Regions from separate parts of the Homo sapiens genome. Here region 2 is linked to region 1. The links are contacts of gene promoters, found by promoter capture Hi-C in blood cells and fetal thymus (Javierre and others, 2016). All regions are on one chromosome and are shown on one strand. Each heading gives the region's core, a stretch centred on a gene start or on the middle of the fragment in contact. The rest is flanking DNA. Distances are from core to core; before and after follow the strand shown. Region 1 holds the start of CLCN5 (chloride voltage-gated channel 5). Region 2 has its middle 17 kb from the start of AKAP4.

Region 1 (3,500 bases), core at 759-3,258:
AATCAGGGGGAAAATGAACCAAAGAAGAAGAAAAATGTAAAAATGGAATACCAGTTTAAAGAAAACCAAATTAATTCAGCTAATTCCTGTTGTTAAAACTTCAAATCCAGTCCTAGGACAATATTTGCAAAGATATTAAAGGAGTTAGGGGCCGGGTGCGGTGTAATCCCAGCACTTTGGGAGGCCGAAGCAGGCGGATCACCTGAGGTCAGTTCGAGACCAGCCTGGCCAACATGGTGAAACCCCGTCTCTACTAAAAATACAAAAATTAGCCAGGTATGGCGGTGCACTATAATTACAAGTGACGCCTGTAATCCCAGCTACTCGGAAGGCTGAGGCAGGAGAATCGCTTGAACCCGGGAGGGAGGCGGAGGTTGCAGTGAGCCAAGATTGTGCCACTGCACTCCAGCCTGGGCGACAGAACGAGAGCCGGCTCAAACCAAAAAAAAAAAAAAAAATAGGAGCTAGGAATGGGAGAAAAAATGAGAGGTCTGACGACTTAGTTTGACTTAGAGGCTTAACACTCTGCTTGCCCATTTAAACAAGATCTCAGTTAATAAACTGGTCTTCCCTACTTAGCATACAAGCCAATCTGTTTTTTCTAAAAGTCTTCACCTTTTTGACCTGGTGAACATCAAAGTAGATTGTTATTTCCATATCTTTTATACAACCAACACCTCCACCTCCTAAGTGAAAGTGCTAAAGCACAAACACTGAAGGCTAATACTAGCTTGAGAATCGTGTTGGCCTTCTTTAATGACAAAAGGGTTAATGTGTACACCAGTCCCAAAACACCAACAGAGAAAAGACAGTGCTTTGGACAAGGAAAAGTTCGCGAAGTCCAAGAAAACTAGGAACTCACAAACTCCTAGGGTGAATTCAGCAGGAAAAAGCGCTCCGATGACTTCTCTGAGACCTGGGACAGTCTGTTTTGATTTGCCTTTTTTCTTCTCCTATTTCGCGTGCAGTTAAGAAGTAATGATCATCGTCCCGTGGGACTAGGCGAAATTTAACATCCCTGAAGTTAAACCCGAGCAGTTGCTAATAAATGTATGAAGTTTATGTAAAGTTGATTCGTGCTGGTTTTTTATGCTCCAAACTTCTAGATTTCCCTCACTTACTCGGGGCAGCTTCCACTGACGTTATCGCACGGGCACAGGTACAACTTCACTGGGAACTCCAGGCAACTGATTTGCTCTGAAATGTTAATCAAAGGAAACGTGCGTCAATGTAAAGGCAAAGCTTTTCCCGTGTGGATCAAGGCGCTCAAGAGCAAGGCTCGAAAGTCTGGAGAGAACCAGCTACGCGCGTTAAGTGGCAAAAGGAAAACAGCGCAGCAACTACTTTTCCGAGAGTTTCTCCACTTTGCTAAGACCCATACAAAACCAGCGGCAAGTCCAGAGCCGGAGGGAGAAGAGCCGGGCCTCGGCTGAGCTTTGCCAGCCTAAGTCACCCTACCCCAGTCCGGGAAAGGGGACGCAGGCGGCTAAACACTCCGATTCAAAAGCGGGGCGGGCTTGGCGCCGCTCCGCAAGGAAACTTCGCTCGGGCAACCCAGGGACCATAACTCGGAGAACAGGGCTGGGCTCCCGGGAAGACGCCGCTCAGCACTGGCTGGAACTAGCCTGTCTACCTCCTCTAAGCGCCGGGCTGCCAACGCCGGGCGCGGGGAAGCCCCATCTCCGGGGGTCCAAGCCAGCGGGATTGCGCTTCCCCTGTGTCGCTGCGCTTAGGGGGTGCTCCGGGGGTGGGCCGGGGGCCAGCGGCCCGCCAAGGACCTGTTGGGGAAGGGACAGCCCGTTTGCCTTTACCTGTCGCCGAGGTCCGGAGCGGCGGAGCCCGTGTCCGCCGCCGGTGGGCAGCGCGCTCGGTCGGCTCTGGCGTCCAGGACACCAAGTTGAGTGAGCGCCCCACGTAGCCGGCAGAGCTTCATTCACACAGCCCAGCCGGGGAGGAGGGGGAGCGAAGCGGGCGCGCGGCTCATGTGACAGGGCGCCTCGCGAGTATCGGCTCAGCCCAGCCAGCGTCTGCGCGTGCGCGCCACGCCGAGCTCACACCCGGCACCTCTACCCAGCCGAGATGAGGGGAGGCCCGCCGGGGAGGAGCTGCCAGGAGGAGTTTCAACTTGCGCAGCCGCAGTACGTCGGCCCCGCTCGCTGCCATATTTAATGAGGACTGGGCGGGCGGGTCCTATCCCAGTGCTGGGCGTGTCAGTTGCCTTTGAAAACGCAATGCCCCATTGTGTTTCACTATTTCCAGCTTGCAGTGCCTTTTTTTGCTGGGGAGAAGGTTTGTCCTTAGAATGAAACTGTCTATCCTGAGCTTTCGGCCCACAGAGTAATTAGTAGTAGAAATCTAATACTAATAACATTAGATCACATAATTTGAGCTGCTTCTTATGTGCCAGGCACTCTCCTAACCCCTTTACTTTTTTCGTCTCATTTGGTGTTCACAATAACCCCGAGGGTTATTTCTCCATTTTTACTCATAAAAATACACAGGCACAGAAAGGTTAAGTAACTTGTCTAAACTCATATAATAGTAGGAATAGGAATAGTGATCAAACGTAGTGATACTTTTAACAGCCAACTTGATGTTTCCAGCAACGCTGCAAAAACTATACTGCAGTTGTTAGTACTGTATTATCTCCATATTAATCATTACAAAACAGAGGCTCAGAAAAGCTGAAGTCACAGGACTAGTACGTGGTAGAACTGGGAATCCAACCTAGGTCTAACTTACTCCAAAGCCCTTACCCTAGGTTTGAAAGAAACAGCACACCGTTTTGCAGAAGAGAAAACTTAGGCCAAATGGGGTGCACTGACTCACTTAAGATGATCCAGCTAATTAGTTCTTGGCAGACCTGAGACTGGAATCCATATAATCCAAGTAATCTAACTAGAACCAGGGTACTCTACTGCAGTGAACAATTTGGAATGCCTACTTTGGACAAGCTAAGTGGTCAGGGATTTAAAAACCCCTATCCTAGCCCAATCAGCATAAGGCTACCGGGGACAAATTTGTAATCCGACATAGTCAGGCTTTGACCCATTGCAATATGAGAGACTGCACACGGTAGGCATTTCATCAAACAGAAAAACATGGAGTCATTATAGGATTGGAGAGAAGAGTGGAGTTTAGGTGAATTTTAAACAAAGCAGTGTTTTTGGTAAGCTCAAAGCAAAGCAGTACTGTCATTTGGGGTCACCATCAGGTCTGAACTGCAAAGTGAACCCAGAGTTGTGTTTCCTTGGGAACCACAAAATAAAGATAGATGTGGAATGTTGTGTCCAGATACCCCTTATCTGAAGCTCTGCACCTGGGTTGGAAATTGAGGCTGCTTCTCTGTGTCAAAGAAACTTATGTCCTCCAGATGCATGTGGGATGTTTCATTCTTACTGATACGATTTCAAGCAGAAAAGTTTCTGATAATCTACGATTTTAGAGAACAAAGTCTCTCAGTGAATAAAAAAGTGGTGGTCACTGAAATAAAAACATCG
Region 2 (3,339 bases), core at 353-2,852, 260 kb before region 1:
CCTTTTATTGTTATTTACTTGCTTATTGATTGTCCCCTTCCACTAAAATGGTAACTTCAGGAGCACAGGGACCTGTCTGTCTTGCTCACCACTGTACCCTCAGCGCCCAGCACAATGCCTGGCACACAGTAGCCATTCAATAAATATTTATTGAATAAATAACAATCCATCTATTTCAGTGTCTTCTGGTGGAGAACAATAACATTAAACGGGAAATCATAAAACTTGTCATTAACCATGGCCATCTCACTTCATATAGCCAAGTCTTAATTTCTTTACCTCAAAAATTGGGATTCTAACCAATAGTCTTTTATACCTACCTCATTAGAACGGTTATGTACATCAAAAGAGGCAATTATATTTGAAAATATACCTAAATGAAGCCCACTAAAGCTTCAGTATGGTTGGGCACGGTGGCTCAGGCCTCTAATCACAGCACTTTGGGAGGCCGAGACAGGTGGATCGCTTGAACTCAGGAGTACAACACCAGCCTAGGCAACATGGTAAAACCCCATCTATATAAACGCAAAACTTAGTCGGGCATGGTGGCACTTGCCTGTAGTCCCAGCTACTTAGGAGTCTGAGGTGGGAGGATTACCTGAGCCCGGGAGGTTGAGGCTGCAGTGAGCCAAGATTGCACCACTGCACTCCAGCCTGGGTGACAAGACCTTCCTCAAAAAAAAAAAGAGCTTCAATACAAAATAATAATAATAGCAATAATAATAACGTCTAACATTTGTTGAGCTTTTACTGTGAGTCAGCATTCTTCTAAATGCTTTTCAGTATTATATAATCCTCCCAAAAGCCCTATAAGGTATGTATTACTGTTATCCCTTTTTGCAGATGAGATGACAGAGGCTTGGAAAGGCTGAGTAACTTGCTAAGGTCACAGAGCTAGGAAGTGCTGGAGCTGGGATTGAAAAACACAGATAGGCTCCAAAGCTTCCACTCTATACTACTTCACAGGACACCAGGACCTTGTCCATAACATCATAAGTCAGGATAAATCCTAGCATAGTGCAGGTAACACTGACAGAATGGAGTAGGAACAACTAGGAGGTGACAGGAACCTCTGCAGTAGAGTGGATGGTTAGCTGGAAGAAATCTCCCCTGGTGGACAGGCAGAGGTTTTCAAAGGATATTGCTGGCATAGACCATAGCCCAGAAGAAGGCTGAACTGGGCATCCCCCAAAGCAAGCCGATACAGCTCCTGGGACTCAGAGCAGGCAATATCCCCAAGGAGAAGCATATGTAATGTTGAAAATGTAGCCTCGCAGAACAAGTATGGAATTTGCATTTGCTCAGAGGGCTCAGGGCTGCTCCTTGTTGGGGGTTGAGGGGAACCAGAGCTAAAGAGCAACAAGACAGGCTAGCACCCTTGCACCCTGGCAGGAGACAAGGACAGTCTCTGATGGTATCCGACCAATGCACGCCAGAATGTGTGAAGTAGAAGGAAAGGAGGGGTTACAGGCAGTTGGGGTGTTCAGGGCACTTGCCAATCAGTAGGAAAGGATTTCAACATTTGAATAGCTGTGGGGCTGTGCTAGTGCCTCAAGTCTGAAATGCCTCTCCCAGGGTGGAAGTATTTTACTTTCTCTTATCTTCCTCAAGTCTCGGGCCTGGCTAAGAGTTGAATTCTAGATAACACCTGGGGCGAGCTCAGCTGAAGAAAAGGTACAAACCCACACAGTTCCAGCGCCACTGGATCACACTGTCTTATAATGTCTTGGTTTCATGTCTGCCTTTCCACCAGACTACAAATAGCTTGTAACAAATGAACAGATAAGGGCCTCCCACCTACTGGGCACCCAGACAATCAATGTTTGTTAAGTAACAGCTAACTGTGTGCTGAGCCAGGCCCTCTGCTAGGCTCTTCTCACAGATTGTCACATCTAATCCTCAAGGTGCCTCTCTTGGTAGCCCCAATTCTCAACTGAGGAAATGAAGGTACAGAGGATCAGAAAGTTGCCTACATCTGGGATGACGCCCAGGCAAAATGAGACTTGACTCTGTACTATTCACCACCACACTTGAGTGGCTGGTGGGTGCCCATCCATGTGCAAAACGTCAGAGGTGAATAAAGGCATGGCTTGCTTAGGAATCCAGGAGACATGGCACTGGAGTAGAAAGTGTGTGAAGGGGAACTGAAGGGTGACAAGGCTAGAAAAGTCAGCTGGCATCAGAGTACTATGTGGATTCACTGCTAAGTTCAAGGAGAAACCACTTGAAGGGTTTGAGCTCTGCAGTTTCAGAGTAAGCTTTGTGTTCTGGAGTGCTCACTCAGTCTGCTATGGGAAGGATACATTGGAGCGAGCCATGTGCTGCTTAACTGTTCTTTACTTCCTTTGCTTATTTCTGCTTTTTTTTTGGTTCCTTTCATTTTTCCTTTTTAAAATGGACTTCACTAAATGTTAAAAGATTCCAGAGCTGAACTAACATACCTACTGGGGGGCAGATGGGGAAGGTGAGCAGTGCCCCTTATGACCGACTAGAAACCCCAGCTGTGATGGAGACAATTGATGAAGAGAAGGGTGGTAGGTTTTCATTTTCCTTCCCTAAGGTTACACTTGGCCTCCAGGCCTTTATTTGCCACTGTCACAACCATCAGATGCCAGAAACAGTAGAAGGCAGACTCCAAACTCTCCCCGACCTCCAAATGCCAAATGCATATATTTTTAATGACCTTGACGTGGCTTAACACAGCACCTCCCAATAGAAGATAAATCATGTCCCAGAACTCAGCAAGAGAGGAAAGTAAAATAAAACACCCTGATCTGCTAACTTTCCTCTCAGTGGCTGACAGCATCTCGTTCCCAAAGGCCCTGCTTTTGGAAAAGAAATTTTTCCTGTTGGAGACTTCGGATGCCTTTGTCAATGAGTCCTGTGGCACAAACTATCTGCTAAAGGGAAGGGAGGACTTGCCAGGAAAATCTCCTCTGCAACCAAATGGTCCACTTCTGAAATGACAGAACAACTTAGTTATCCCCATCCTGATGCAAACTCTAAGCAGGCACACCTAGAGTGACTTGTCATATCTCTCCATCCTCCTTTGAGTCGAATCTTGGGGTTTTCTTCCTACTTCCCTGGCCCTTTCTTCCCAGTCTCTTTCAGAGAACCCTCTTTCTCTGCCCATCTGATAACTGTTGACCTACCCAGGATCTATCCTTGTTTTGCTGCTCTTCCCACAAGCCCCACTATCTAGCTGCACCCACTTTACAGAGGGTGGGTGGACAGGCCTAGCTGGGACACTGCCAAAGAGAACTCGTGCCAGAGTTTGGATCCTGGAAGACGGCAAGGACCAGAGGAGGTAGAGGAGGGTGTGAGATGAGGTTCTCTCAG

What was found. The method cuts DNA at HindIII sites, captures the fragments that hold promoters and counts their contacts. A CHiCAGO score of 5 or more calls a contact.
Region 2: a fragment that was not itself captured here is called in contact with the fragment with the promoter of CLCN5 in region 1 in 1 of 17 cell types (naive B cells); the score reaches 5.3 in naive B cells.

Annotation. Positions count from the first base shown.
Region 1 is chrX:49,921,104-49,924,603 of GRCh38, reverse strand. CLCN5 (chloride voltage-gated channel 5) reads right to left here and starts at 2,008. Exons shown (of 15, transcript NM_001127898.4): 1 at 1,812-2,008; 2 at 1,122-1,197. RefSeq lists a silencer at 1,697-1,746. The HindIII fragment of the contact is 4,286 bases long and covers 1,245-3,500 here.
Region 2 is chrX:50,182,505-50,185,843 of GRCh38, reverse strand. No RefSeq gene overlaps it. Among named protein-coding and RNA genes, the nearest start is that of AKAP4, 17 kb to the left of the region's middle. The HindIII fragment of the contact is 1,316 bases long and covers 945-2,260 here.